Linked DNA regions of Homo sapiens: all the other regions are linked to region 2. The links are contacts of gene promoters, found by promoter capture Hi-C in blood cells and fetal thymus (Javierre and others, 2016). All regions are on one chromosome and are shown on one strand. The core of a region is centred on a gene start or on the middle of the fragment in contact, and the rest is flanking DNA. Distances in the headings are between cores, read along the strand shown.

Region 1 (4,135 bases), core at 648-3,147, 530 kb before region 2:
GTAGAGGTTGATCAGTCCACTGATGATAGCTCACTGCACTCCAACCTGGGCAAGACAGCAAGACCCTGTCTCAATAAATAAATAAGTAAGTTAAAAAGTAGGAATATATAAACAGTTAACCAGACAGGCTACACAGAGAAATGACCAAACTATTTTCTTAACCCTTATACATTATGAGATTTAATGTGTTAATACTTATAAAACCCTGAAGTCATCTGACAAAATGTACCCTAAGCTTGCCTTTTATTATCCTGAGATAAGGAATTACTTGACAATGAACATCGTTTCTGACTTTTTTATGACAGTATAATTGGTTGACATTAGTTTAATAAATATCAGTCACAATTTTCAAAATAGGCCCTGATTTTATGGCTGCCTTTGGTGATGTTTGGAACATGCCATCTCTTGCGCTATTAAGTTTACAGATTATTCTGTGTATTGTTCTGTTAGCAAGAACCCTAGCAACACAAGTCTTGATGTCTGAAGTTAACTAAGTGCAAGAAAGCACCTTATCTTATAACAACTTGCATTCCTCAAACATCTGAGCTTCTGTTGAGTGTCCTCAGTAATCATCAACCCTAAAGTAACCCTTGAGCAAGGGAAAGTAGGGTGTTGGAAAGGAGCTGGGGCAGCTGAAGCCCACGACAAAAAAAAAAAAAAAAAAAAAAAAAAAAAAAAGATGCCAAAAGTGCCAGTCATCAAAACTCTTGAGTGCTGTAATGAACGCTCCAGGGAGCATTGTAGTTGGGAGAATGATTCAGCAGTGGCTGACTCTAGGCTACATGGACAGATTCAACGAAGTTTATGGTCAAAAGCATTGCACTGGCTGGAGGCAGAGGAGGTGTGTGGTTTGTAACAGAAAAAGGCATTTGTCCTCCTTACATCATATTACCCTGTGTTATTACTCTCTGCCCCTCTCAAATATATCAACACGAAAGCTCTGTGACCTAAAGATGAAAAGAAATCATTTGCAAAGGTCAAACATTTTTGTGTTATGAAACACAAAAGTCTATGAAATCCACCACATACATTGTGAAACCAAAGTCAAGGTTCTATTTATTCTGTGCCAGTTCAGTGTAGGAAGAAAAAGAAGTGATGAGGCATATTTTTAAAGACAAAAAACTTAAAAAAAATGGACAAAATTATGACTGCAGACATGTGGAGAGTCCTATCTACACCCTGTCAGATGGTCCAAACACTCCACTCCCAACCATTTAGCCAAACTTTGCATCTGTTTATGGCTACATCTAGGAAATCAAAAGCAGATGACAACATCATCACTGCAGCCAATGTTTGTAGCAAATATTCCTTCTCTCCAAAGGCTTAGAAATTTGTGAACGTGGAGCCAGGAAGACGGAATCATAATTAAATGCAGATGTGCTATCATGTTATGCTATTATGCACCTAAAAGAAACAATGACCTGGAGTGCAAAACCAGTGTCTCCCTGAGAGAGCCCCAGATGGCACAGTCGGGCTAAGGACAGATTTCACTGTGGGGACCTGGCTGTGAAGGAAGGCCTAGAAGGAAACTAAAGAGATAAACATTGAGATTAGAGAGTCTACCTTCGTCAATTTAAAAAAAGAAGAAACAAAGATATTAGAGAAAACTCATATTGATCAAGACTAGATCTCAGTTCTGAAATTCGGAGGAAAGTACTGTTTGTCCAGAATAAAAGGAGGGAATTTGCAAAATCCAAAGAATAGTGGATAAGGCATGGATTAAAATAGCTTCAGGCCAGGCACAGTGGCTCACTCCTGTAATCCCAACACTTTGGGAGGCAGAAGCTAGAGGATCGCTTGAGCCCAGGAGTTTGAGACCAGCCTGGGCAACATAGTGAGACCCTGTCTCTAAAAAAAAAAATTAAAAATTAGCTGAGCATCATTGCACACGCCTGTAGTCCCAGTTACTCCAGAGGCTAAGGTGGGAGGATTGCTTGAGCCTAGGAGGTTGAGGCTGCCGTGAGCTGTGATTGTGCCACTACACTCCAGCCTGGGTGACAGAGTGAGACCCTGTCTCAAAAACAACAAATAAACAAAAAATAGCAGCTTCAGTAGAAGCACATTTATCCAGAGGTGGAGGGAAGGAGGCCTGGCTACAAGAAACCTTCATGCTCAACTGGCAAATTCAGCTCTGATTGTAAAGCATAAAAGGAAGTATTTTTAGAGCAATACTTACTCAGGAAACAGTAAAACTGAACATTGTGTTTCATCATAACTGGCTCTAACTTGCTGTGGCTGATTAGGACCATAAATTTTGAGTGATTCAGGTATGCCAGACCCTCAAAGAATCTAACTGAAAACTGTTTATTGACCAATGAACCACAGGACTTGTTTTAACCAACATACAGGCCTGTGGACTCTTTCCTCTCTATCCACAGTGCTAGTTTTCAATCCTTAATTTGTGGCCGTTAACAACCGCTGATTTGTACCCCCTCAGTGAAACTACTCAATCGACTTTTTTCTATAAAATATATTCCATTGTCTGGCAAGTTTTAAAAAAACACTTGATTTTTTTTAAGCACTGAGGACCTTTATATATATTTTTTTTTCAATATTTTATATATATTTTCAATAGCTTTAGGGGTACAAGTGGTTTTTGGTTTCATGGATAAATTGTATAGTGGTGAAGTCTGAATTTTCAGTGCACCCATCACCCAAGTAGTGTTCTTTGTACCCAATAAGCAGTTTGCCATCCCTCATTTCACTTCCACCCTCCCCCTTCTGAGTCTCAAATGTTCGTTATACCACTCTGTATGTCCTTGCATACACATAGCTTAGCTCCCACTTACAAGTGAGAAAACATGTGGTATTTGGTTTTCCACTCTTGAGTTACTTCACTTAGAATAATGGCCTCCAGTTTCATCCAATTTCCTGCAGAAGACCTTCTTTTGTTCTTTTTTATGACTGAGTAGCATTCCATGGTGTATGTAGACCATATTTTCTTTATCCATTCATCAGTTGACGAGCATTTAGGTTGATTCCGTATCTTTGCAATTGTGAATTGTGCTGCAGTAAACATATACATGCATGTATCTTTTTGATTTAATGACTTTTTTTTTCCTTTGAGTAAATAGCCAGTTGTGGGATTGCCAGATTGAATAGTAGATCTACTTTTAGTTTTTCAAGAAACTTCCATACTCTTTTCTGTAGAGGTTGTATTAATTTACATTCCCACCAGTAGCATATAAGAATTCCTTTTTCACCACATCCTTACCAACATCTGTTGTTTTTTGACTTTTTAATAATAGCCATTTTGGCTGGGGTAGGTGATATCTCATTGTGGTTTTAATTTGCATTCCCCGATGATTAGTAATGTTGCACTTTTTAAAAATATGTTTGTTGACCATTTGTATATCTTCTTTTGAGAAATGTCTATTCATGTTCTTTGCCCACTTTTTGATGGGATTATTTGCTTTTTTCTTGCTGATTTGTTTGAATTCCTTGTCGATTCTGGATATAAATCCTTTGTTGGATGCATGGTTTGCAACTATTCTCTCCCATTCTGTGGATTGTATGTTTACTCTGATTATTATTATTATTATTGCTGTACAGAAGCTTTTTCGTTTTTGTTGCATTTGCTTTTGGGGTCAGTCATAAATTTTTTATGTTAACCAATGTCCAGAGGAGTTTTTTCAAGGTTTTCTTCTAGAATTTTTATGGTTTCAGGTCTTAAAGATCTTAATCAAATATCTTTTTTAAAAAAGAGGAACGTGAACAAGAAAGATAAAGGATGATGTGTGTAAAAAGCTAAAGGTGACTGTAGCCCCTAAAAGCTGTATAAAGAAGGGTAGGGTTTGGAAAGTGCCAGCTAATGCTTCCCCATCCCAGGTGTGAGGCAAGGACAATGGAAGGGATGTGAGTACACAGGGATCATTAAGAGACATGTGGCCTCTTTGGATGTAATTCCTGGAGTCCCAGCCACCACTACTGGCCCCTACCTCCATCCCAATGCTTTGGATTTCCTGGTTACAACAGCAGTGGGAAAACTGAAAATCCATTCTTTTTTTTTTTTTTTTTTTTTTTTGAGATGGTGTCTTACTCTGTCACCCAAGCTGAAGTTCAGTGACACCATCTTGGCTCACTGCAACCTCCACCTCCGGATTCAAGTGATTCTCATGCCTCAGCGTCCCATGTA
Region 2 (3,847 bases), core at 954-3,453:
ACAACGCAAGGTTAACTTCCCTCCCACCTCCTCTTGTAGGCACACAGGGTGCCCCTTAGCCAGCGAAATCTCCGCGCCCGAGATCCTCTCACAATTTCAGGCTGGTGAATTGTAGTAGGAGACATGGTTTAGTTTGATGTGGTTAAGTCAGTCATCATGGCATCTTCGTACCCTCAGCCCCAAACCGCTCTCCTACTCATCACCCTCACTTTCATTTCTTTGGATTATCTTTCATCGGCTTACCACCAGCCTTCACAGCCTCACCCAAGGCTGAAGCAGGGCTAGCAGGGTGGTGCGTTTCCTTCCCTGGTTGAGCTGGTGACTGCTGTGGGTAAGCAGGTCCAATGTGAACTCAATTTTACATTGAGAAAGAGAAAGCAAGAGTGAGTGGGCTGCTAAGACTGTTGCTTCATGGTTTCCCCTAAGCCCCAGAAATAGAAAGGCAGACTTCCGACTGGCAGAGCCCGTATGCTAACCACCAGACCACACTGCCAGATAAGAAAAATGTTCGATTGTGTCATACTTCCCTCATTGGCTCCAGTGTCTGAAAATGGCCCTGAATTTCAGAGAGTCTTACCATGACCCAGGGATTTAGAGAGGATCGAAGAGGGAGGACAAAGGAATCAGGCACCTTCTCTCTCTCTTTTCTGGGGTAAATTTATTTTCAACCACAAAAGTAAAGGAAAGAAAAAGTCACAACAGATGAGTTATGAGCTAACTTTCTGATTTGCACATGTAAGAGAAAGAAATGAACTGGATATCATTAGACATTGAGAAAGGGAGTCTGCAAGCTAGCAATGTATCTTCGGCCTTTTTGATTTACACGTGTTTATTTATGAGTACCTACTGTGTGCCAGGCATGATGCTTGGTGCTGCCAATTCAAAGAGAAATAAGACACCTCCTTGCAAAGTGAGAAGGCAGAACTAGATTCAGATTCACCTAGATTTCAACTCTTGTGCTCAGGCCACCACCACCACCATGGAAACAATTTTGCTTGACTCTCCCGGCGCAGCCGCGGCAGGCGTGTGTGTTGTCAGACACTGCAGGAAGAGTGATGGCCTGGGTGTTGACAGGCTCCTAATTGGAAGGTAGGAGGTGCCACCAGAGATCAGCTATAAAAGATATCTTTGGACTGGGGTGGGCTGCTAATGCTTGGAAGAGACTTGTGGGTGAGGCCCGGTGAGCTGTCACCTCGGAATTGGGCCTTGCCCAGCAGACAGACATGCATGCGGGGGAGGTAGCTGACAGACAGGGGCGCATGGGGAAGCAGCCATTCCAGAGAACTGCAACAGCAGATTGCAAACCAGGACTTCAGGACTCAGAGGGGGACAAGGAAAGGAGAGCCTATAGTGGCCCCAAAGCCCAGGGTCAGAGGCAGGGCCAGGAGAGCAGCTGACAAGAGCTTTATGGTAAGGACAAAAGAGAAGACAGCCGGAGTCTCCTTTTATTCAGCTCATAAAGACCCAACTTCTGTGCACTTATAACTGTTCAGACCCTGAGGGGTTCAAAAAAAGAACCGTGTTAGGAGAATTCAATATTTAATTAAGAGATGATCAGATCCGTGCACCGAAATTATTGCTGGGTAAGACAATACTGTGTGTGTTACATAGCATTGGAACTTAGGAAAGCTCTTTCCTTGTGTTGTTTAATTTAATCCACTCAACAACCCTGCAAAGTGGGTACCATTGTCCCTGTTTTTTATGAATGAGGGGGTGAGGTGCTGAGAAGCTGTGTACGTTATTTGAGTTTGTCTGGCTAGTCAGTGGCTGAGCCAAGTTCCAATCCAGGTCATGTGAGCCTCTGAACTTTCTGATAAAACCTGCAGACCCCCTTAACTGGGATAATATAGTCATGCATTAAGCAAGAAGGAGAAGTAAATACAGGCTGATGGTGTAGGGGAGAAATTCAAAGGGAGAAGGCCTAGGAGGGAGAGGGAGCTATGTGTGAACAGAACCAAAGATGGCCTCTGGGAATTGGAAGGTCTCTTGGAATTCGTCCAAACTGAGGATCACAAGTCTCCACATTCTGAGTAGGAGGATGAGGGTCTGAGTTAGGATTTGGGTCCTGCAGGGCTTGCTAAGGAATCCCCTGATGGCCTAGGATTCCACGCAGAGCACATCTGGTGTGAGAGAGCTCGCTGCAAGGGTGAAGGCTCCGCCCTATCAGATAGACAACCAGGCCACCAAGAGGCCCAGCCCTCCAAACCCTGGATTTGCAACATCCTCAAAGAACAGCAACGGGCCTTGAGCAGAATTGAGAAGGAAATACCCCCACCTGCCCTCAGCCGTTAAGTGGGCTTTGCTATTCACAAGGGCCTCTGGGTGTCCTGGCAGAGAGGGGAGATGGCACAGGCACCAGGTGCTAGGGTGCCAGGGCCTCCCGAGAAGGAACAGGTGCAAAGCAGGCAATTAGCCCAGAAGGTATCCGTGGGGCAGGCAGCCTAGATCTGATGGGGGAAGCCACCAGGATTACATCATCTGCTGGTGAGTAGGCTTCATTAATTCTCTGATGAATGGACGATTGCAAGGGAACTTTTTTCATCTTCAAGGAGCCAGAAGAAGTGGTGATTAAATTGGTCTTTTAAAATAAAAAGACTCCAAAGGGGTACAAGTCTTCAAGCTTCCCCTGTGGTGTTCCGGGCACTCTGGCTTCTCTTTCGGAGGGAGGAAGAGCATCTATTCATAGGCTGTGACTTGGAGAGGCCCCACGGTGAGTCAGGCGCTTGCTGTGTGAGCCGCTGGTTGCTAATGTCTTCGGGAACTGCTAATTTACCCATCTAATTTGTTCCTGTACACTGGCCACAAAGGGAGACCACTCAATTATTCTGATCCAAAAGAGAGGCTTGTGTTTACCATGATCTCCCCAGCAACTGTGTGAGTGTGTGTGCATGTGTGTGTGTGTGTGTGTGTGTGTGTGTGTGTGTGTGTGTGTTTGCCTAACAACCTTAGGCAATGACGAAGAGGTGGGGCTGCTGCCCTTGTTAGCATTTTCAAACACATTCCAGTTCTGAGTTGAGGGCAAAGATTGTAATGGGGTGCTTCAGAGAAGCCTTGGCTCCCAAGGAGGTTATAACTTCAAAGGGTGTTTTTGAAAAACCAAGGCGGATGAGGAAAGTGGCTACAAGTTCCTTCCATCACAGAGGATCAATGAAGGGGAACAAAGATTTGGGAGCATCTACTTTGTGCCAGGTACTGTGCTTGGGTTTTACACGTCTTCTCTTGTTGACTTTGCATAACTCCCCTTTGAAGCAGATATTACTCCAGGTTCTTGCCGTAATGTTTCAGCTTAAAGAAAACCAACCCATACTTCTTTAGGTTGCCCTGAAAAGGTGAATCTTCTGTGAAGCCTTTTCTGTCTTTATCTGTTAAAATTAATTAAGCTCTTGTTTGTGCTCCCAGAAAATCACTTTAGACCTTAGAAAGATGGCAGCCTCAGTTTTCTCATTTGTAATATAGGGGTACCCATAGGGTCATTGTGAGAAATAATAGAAATAAATCATGGAAGTGCTTGGATAGTAGCTGGTACTTAGCCCTCATCAGTCATCATTGTCATTGTTGTTAAGAGTAATAATAATAATAATATCACTTATTATAATTACTCACCTCTAGGTTTTTAAAAAACTTACAGGCCGGGCACATTGGCTAACGCCTGTAATCTTAGCACTTTGGGAGGCCAAGGCAGGCAGATCGCCTGAGGTCAGCAGTTCAAGACCAGCTTGGGCAACATGGTGAAACCCTGTCTCTACTAAAAATATGAAAATTAGCCACGCGTGGTGGCTCATCCCTGTAATCCCAGCTACTCGGGAGGCTGAGAGAGGAGAATTGCTTGAACCCGGGAGGCGGAGGT
Region 3 (3,932 bases), core at 785-3,284, 550 kb before region 2:
TCACACACTAGTAAATGCCCTTGCCACTAGAGTTATATCTTCATCCAAGTAGGAAGAGGCCAACATGGCAGCAGGGAGAAACTATGAGTGCCAGCACTAGAGCCTGGGTCCAACTTCCAGTTCTACCAATTACCAGCTATGTAGCTGCTGGTAAGTTACTTATTTATGAGTCTCCATTTTCATCTGCAAAATAGAATAATAAGTACCTCCTAAGGTTAACACATGAATTAAAAGAGTTAAATGTAAAATGCAAGCCACACATTCAACACATATATGCTGTCACTTCACTGGCTGTGAGAACATGACCTCGCAGCAGAAGGAGCAAAGCATTTGAAGTTTTATTTTTCTAGTAATCATGACAGATGCATACTCCTCCATCCACACTCTCTCACTCTACCATCTCTGTCCCTAAACCCATCTAGCAAAGCCCCTTCTAAACTGTCACAGTTTAAGGGTCCAATCAACACTTACCACCCAGTCACATCACTCTTTTGAAGATACATATGTTGCTAATACGTGTGACCCTCTGTGACGTGCTAATACGTGTTACCCTCTGTAGGTTTATTTTTAATTTAAAGTAGAAAATGAACCAGAAAAAAAATTTCTACTTTCTAAAGTAGAAAATGAACCAGAAAAAGAGCAATTTCACCTTTAGTTTAAACCTAAAGCCTTGGTTTTCAACCTTGGCAATGCACTAAAATCACCTGAGGAGCTTTTTAAAGCCTCCTGATGCCTGGGCCATCCCCCCTAGAGATGTCTGATAGAAGTGCCCTGGGTGAGGCCTGGGCTATTTTTAAATGACTCCTGTTCAAGCTAGGATTGAAAACCACTAACCTAGAACTATTGGGTGATAACAAAGTTAAAATAATTAGAGAGCCAGAGCAAACCAAATCTGTTCACTCTTTAAATGCTCTTTTCAACTTACAAACAAGGTATTTAAGGAAGCCTTTAAAAAATAAAGGGACATCCAGGCTGGGCGCGGTGGCTCACACCTGTAATCCCAACACTTCGGGAGGCTGCAGCAGGTGGATCACCTGAGATCAGGAGTTCGAGACCAGCCTGACCAACATGGAGAAACCCTGTCTCTACTAAAAATACAAAATTAGTACCAGGTGCAGTGGAGGGGTGACTGTAGTCCCAGCTACTCGGGAGGCTGAGGCAGGAGAATCGCTTGAACCCAGCAGGCGGAGGTTGCGGTGAGCTGAGATCGTGCCATTGCACTCCAGCCTGGGCAACAGCAGCGAAACTCCGTCTCAAAAAAAAAAAGGGGGGGACATCCCATAAAAGGTACAAGTATGAGAAAAGATACCAAGAAGCTCAGTAAAAGGAACGCTAAACAGATGAGAGTGTTATTTACATGCCAGCATTCTTAACGTGGGGAGGGAGCTGCCCCTAAGGCAGAGATGAGAGCACATCACATGTTCCCTTCTGGTTACCGGGTCAGGGTGATATGGTCAAGAATAAATACCACACCCAAAGGCAGCAGGTGCAGAGTTGGATAAATGAATAAAGTACTAAAGCTTGAGGTGGTCTTTCCTGATGACACTGACTATTAAGAGTGGGAATGCTGGAATTATGGCAGTCCTCCCTCCTGCCCAATGAAGGAATCCCCTCCTTAACATCAATCCTGTTAAGAAATGAAACCTGAGTTTTTAAGTTACAAATGGAGGCTTCAGAATCTCTTCCATTTCCCCACTCTAACAGTTAGATCAATTGTCCTCATTTATATAACAGCTTTCCCCACAAGCTCATGTATATACAATTTACCTTCAAAGCCAGTGGGGCAGGAAAGCTTCAACAGTCAGCAACAGAAAAGGGAAGCCAGGGAGCAAAAACTAGAAAGGAAAAGATCCCCCAACTTCAGGGGATGTTTAGCGCAACATTGGATAAGAGGAACTGATCTAAACTGAAAGATAGAGTATTAATATTAGAAGGTGAGGAGCAGGATGCGGTGTATTTAAGATGAAAATAATTAATGCAATGAAGATTTACTAGATGAAATGAGAGGGTGGGGCTAGAAAACGGACCACGCAAGTTATCTCACTTAAGCCTGTCAATAATCCAGAGATCAATATTATTAATCCCATTTAATGGGCGATACTACAAACTCAGAAAACTTAAGTAACTTTGCAGAGATGTCAGTGTTGTGGCACAGGTTTACTTGTTACATGTAACACGTAAGGACAGGCAAAGAGATTTCCTCCAACTTGCAATTATTGTTTTTAACTCAATGAATAACTTTAGAGCCAGAATATTTTTAAAGAGAGAAAAGCTTCTCTATGGCTGGATAATTTTAAGACCTCTCTCTGGAGAGGTCCTTGTTAACATGTTTACATCTTCCTGGCTGCTAGCTCCCATGACATCCATACGTACCTCTCCTGAACTGCTCTCTCTACCCTGCCCCACACCACTCATGAAGCAGGGCCAAGGGCATCTTCTTGTGCCCCATATAACAAAATATTGTAATTGCCTGTTTATGTCACTGTTTTTCTTTTTTTTTTTTTTTTTTTTTTTTTTTGAGATGGAGTCTCGCTCTATTGCCCAGGCTGGAGTGCAGTGGCATGGTCTCAGCTCACTGTAACCTCCACCTCCTCCCGGGTTCAAGCAATTCTCCCGTCTCAGCCTCCCAAGTAGTTGGGATTACAGGCGACCACCACCACACCCAGCTAATTTTTGTATTTTTAGTAAAGACAGGGTTCCATCATGTTGGCCAGGCTGATGATCTCAAACTCCTGACCTCAAGAAATCCGCCCATCTTGGCCTCCCAAAGTGCTGGGATTATAGGCGTGAGCCACCGCGCCCAGCCTGTCACTATTTTTCCTCTCTAGACTGTGTACTCCTTTTACATCTATATACCTGATCCCTAATACACTGCTCAATATACTAACAAACATAAAACAAATGTGTGTGGATTCAGCATGCAAATAAACTAAACCACGGACCAATATGATATGGCCAAGAGCCTTTCTAACAAGCAGGAGGAAGCAGCAACAGTCTATCCCTCTCCCTGCATCGCCCCTCCAAAAAATGAGAGAAATATTTTAATTTATAAATTCTGATCAAACACCTTTAGACACACTTGTTATGAAAACTGCCACAGAAATTAGCTTGGCTAAAAACTAGCACAATTATTAGAAGTAGGGACTTAAAGTAAAATTCTATTTTGACTTTGCTGCCTTTATAGGCTTCTTTTGGCCAGAGCTAATACATAAATGAAGAAGTTTTCCTGGGAGGAGTAAGGTTGGCTTCATCTGGTGAAATATTTTATCAACATATTACACTTTCCACTTAGTAGTTCCCTTCACTCACAGAAGTTTCAAGAACCTAAACATATTCTTCCACTTTTAATTAAAAGATTGGTTAATGCAAATTGCCCATCAGTCCCAGAGGAGTCATAATGACGTCTTTTCATTCTGTGATAAAGAATGTGCCTAGCGTTTTCTAGCAAATAACTGCCTAACATTCTCCATTTATTCAACAAAGATTCAAGTGCCTACAACGTATACACCCACGTACAGGAAACCAAAGACTGTCCTGACCTTCAAATTTCTTGGTCTGTGGGAAAATAATAAGGGTGGTCTAGATATTGACTGCTGTGGAAGCTAAAGCAATTCCGTCTTAGATACTGATCCACCATGCTGACTTCTGATTAACTCCAGTTTTAAGATTTCCAGTTTATCTATTATTCCTTGTGAAAGAGCCCCTATTTACTATAAATCCTGCCCTGAGGTCAAACAACCTTGACATTATCATACTTCAGTCATGCCATACCTCCCTTCTGAATCGCCCTTCCCTATGGTATTAAGCCCTGGGTCTGAGGGGTAATGGTATGGGATCCACCATCTTGTCTCGCCAACACGCAAGACACAGACATGGTTTCTGGTCCTAAGTCCCTACTAAACATTTCTTTCTGAGAAACTTGATTTGTCAGC

The links. The method cuts DNA at HindIII sites, captures the fragments that hold promoters and counts their contacts. A CHiCAGO score of 5 or more calls a contact.
Region 1: a contact is called between a fragment that was not itself captured here and the fragment with the promoter of LMO2 in region 2, in 1 of 17 cell types (erythroblasts). The highest score is 7.5, in erythroblasts.
Region 3: a fragment that was not itself captured here is called in contact with the fragment with the promoter of LMO2 in region 2 in 1 of 17 cell types (erythroblasts); the score reaches 5.9 in erythroblasts.

The regions. Positions count from the first base shown.
Region 1 is chr11:34,424,149-34,428,283 of GRCh38, reverse strand. No RefSeq gene overlaps it. Among named protein-coding and RNA genes, the nearest start is that of CAT, 13 kb to the left of the region's middle. The HindIII fragment of the contact is 3,320 bases long and covers 238-3,557 here.
Region 2 is chr11:33,890,432-33,894,278 of GRCh38, reverse strand. It overlaps LMO2 (LIM domain only 2), which reads left to right and starts at 2,203. Exons shown (of 6, transcript NM_005574.4): 1 at 2,203-2,484. LOC105376621 (a long non-coding RNA gene) reads right to left here and starts at 333. Exons shown (of 3, transcript XR_931176.3): 1 at 244-333. RefSeq lists enhancers at 91-260, 2,638-2,747. The HindIII fragment of the contact is 4,099 bases long and covers 1-2,622 here.
Region 3 is chr11:34,444,082-34,448,013 of GRCh38, reverse strand. The region is part of intron 1 of CAT (catalase); the gene reads right to left. Among named protein-coding and RNA genes, the nearest start is that of CAT, 7.1 kb to the right of the region's middle. The HindIII fragment of the contact is 480 bases long and covers 1,795-2,274 here.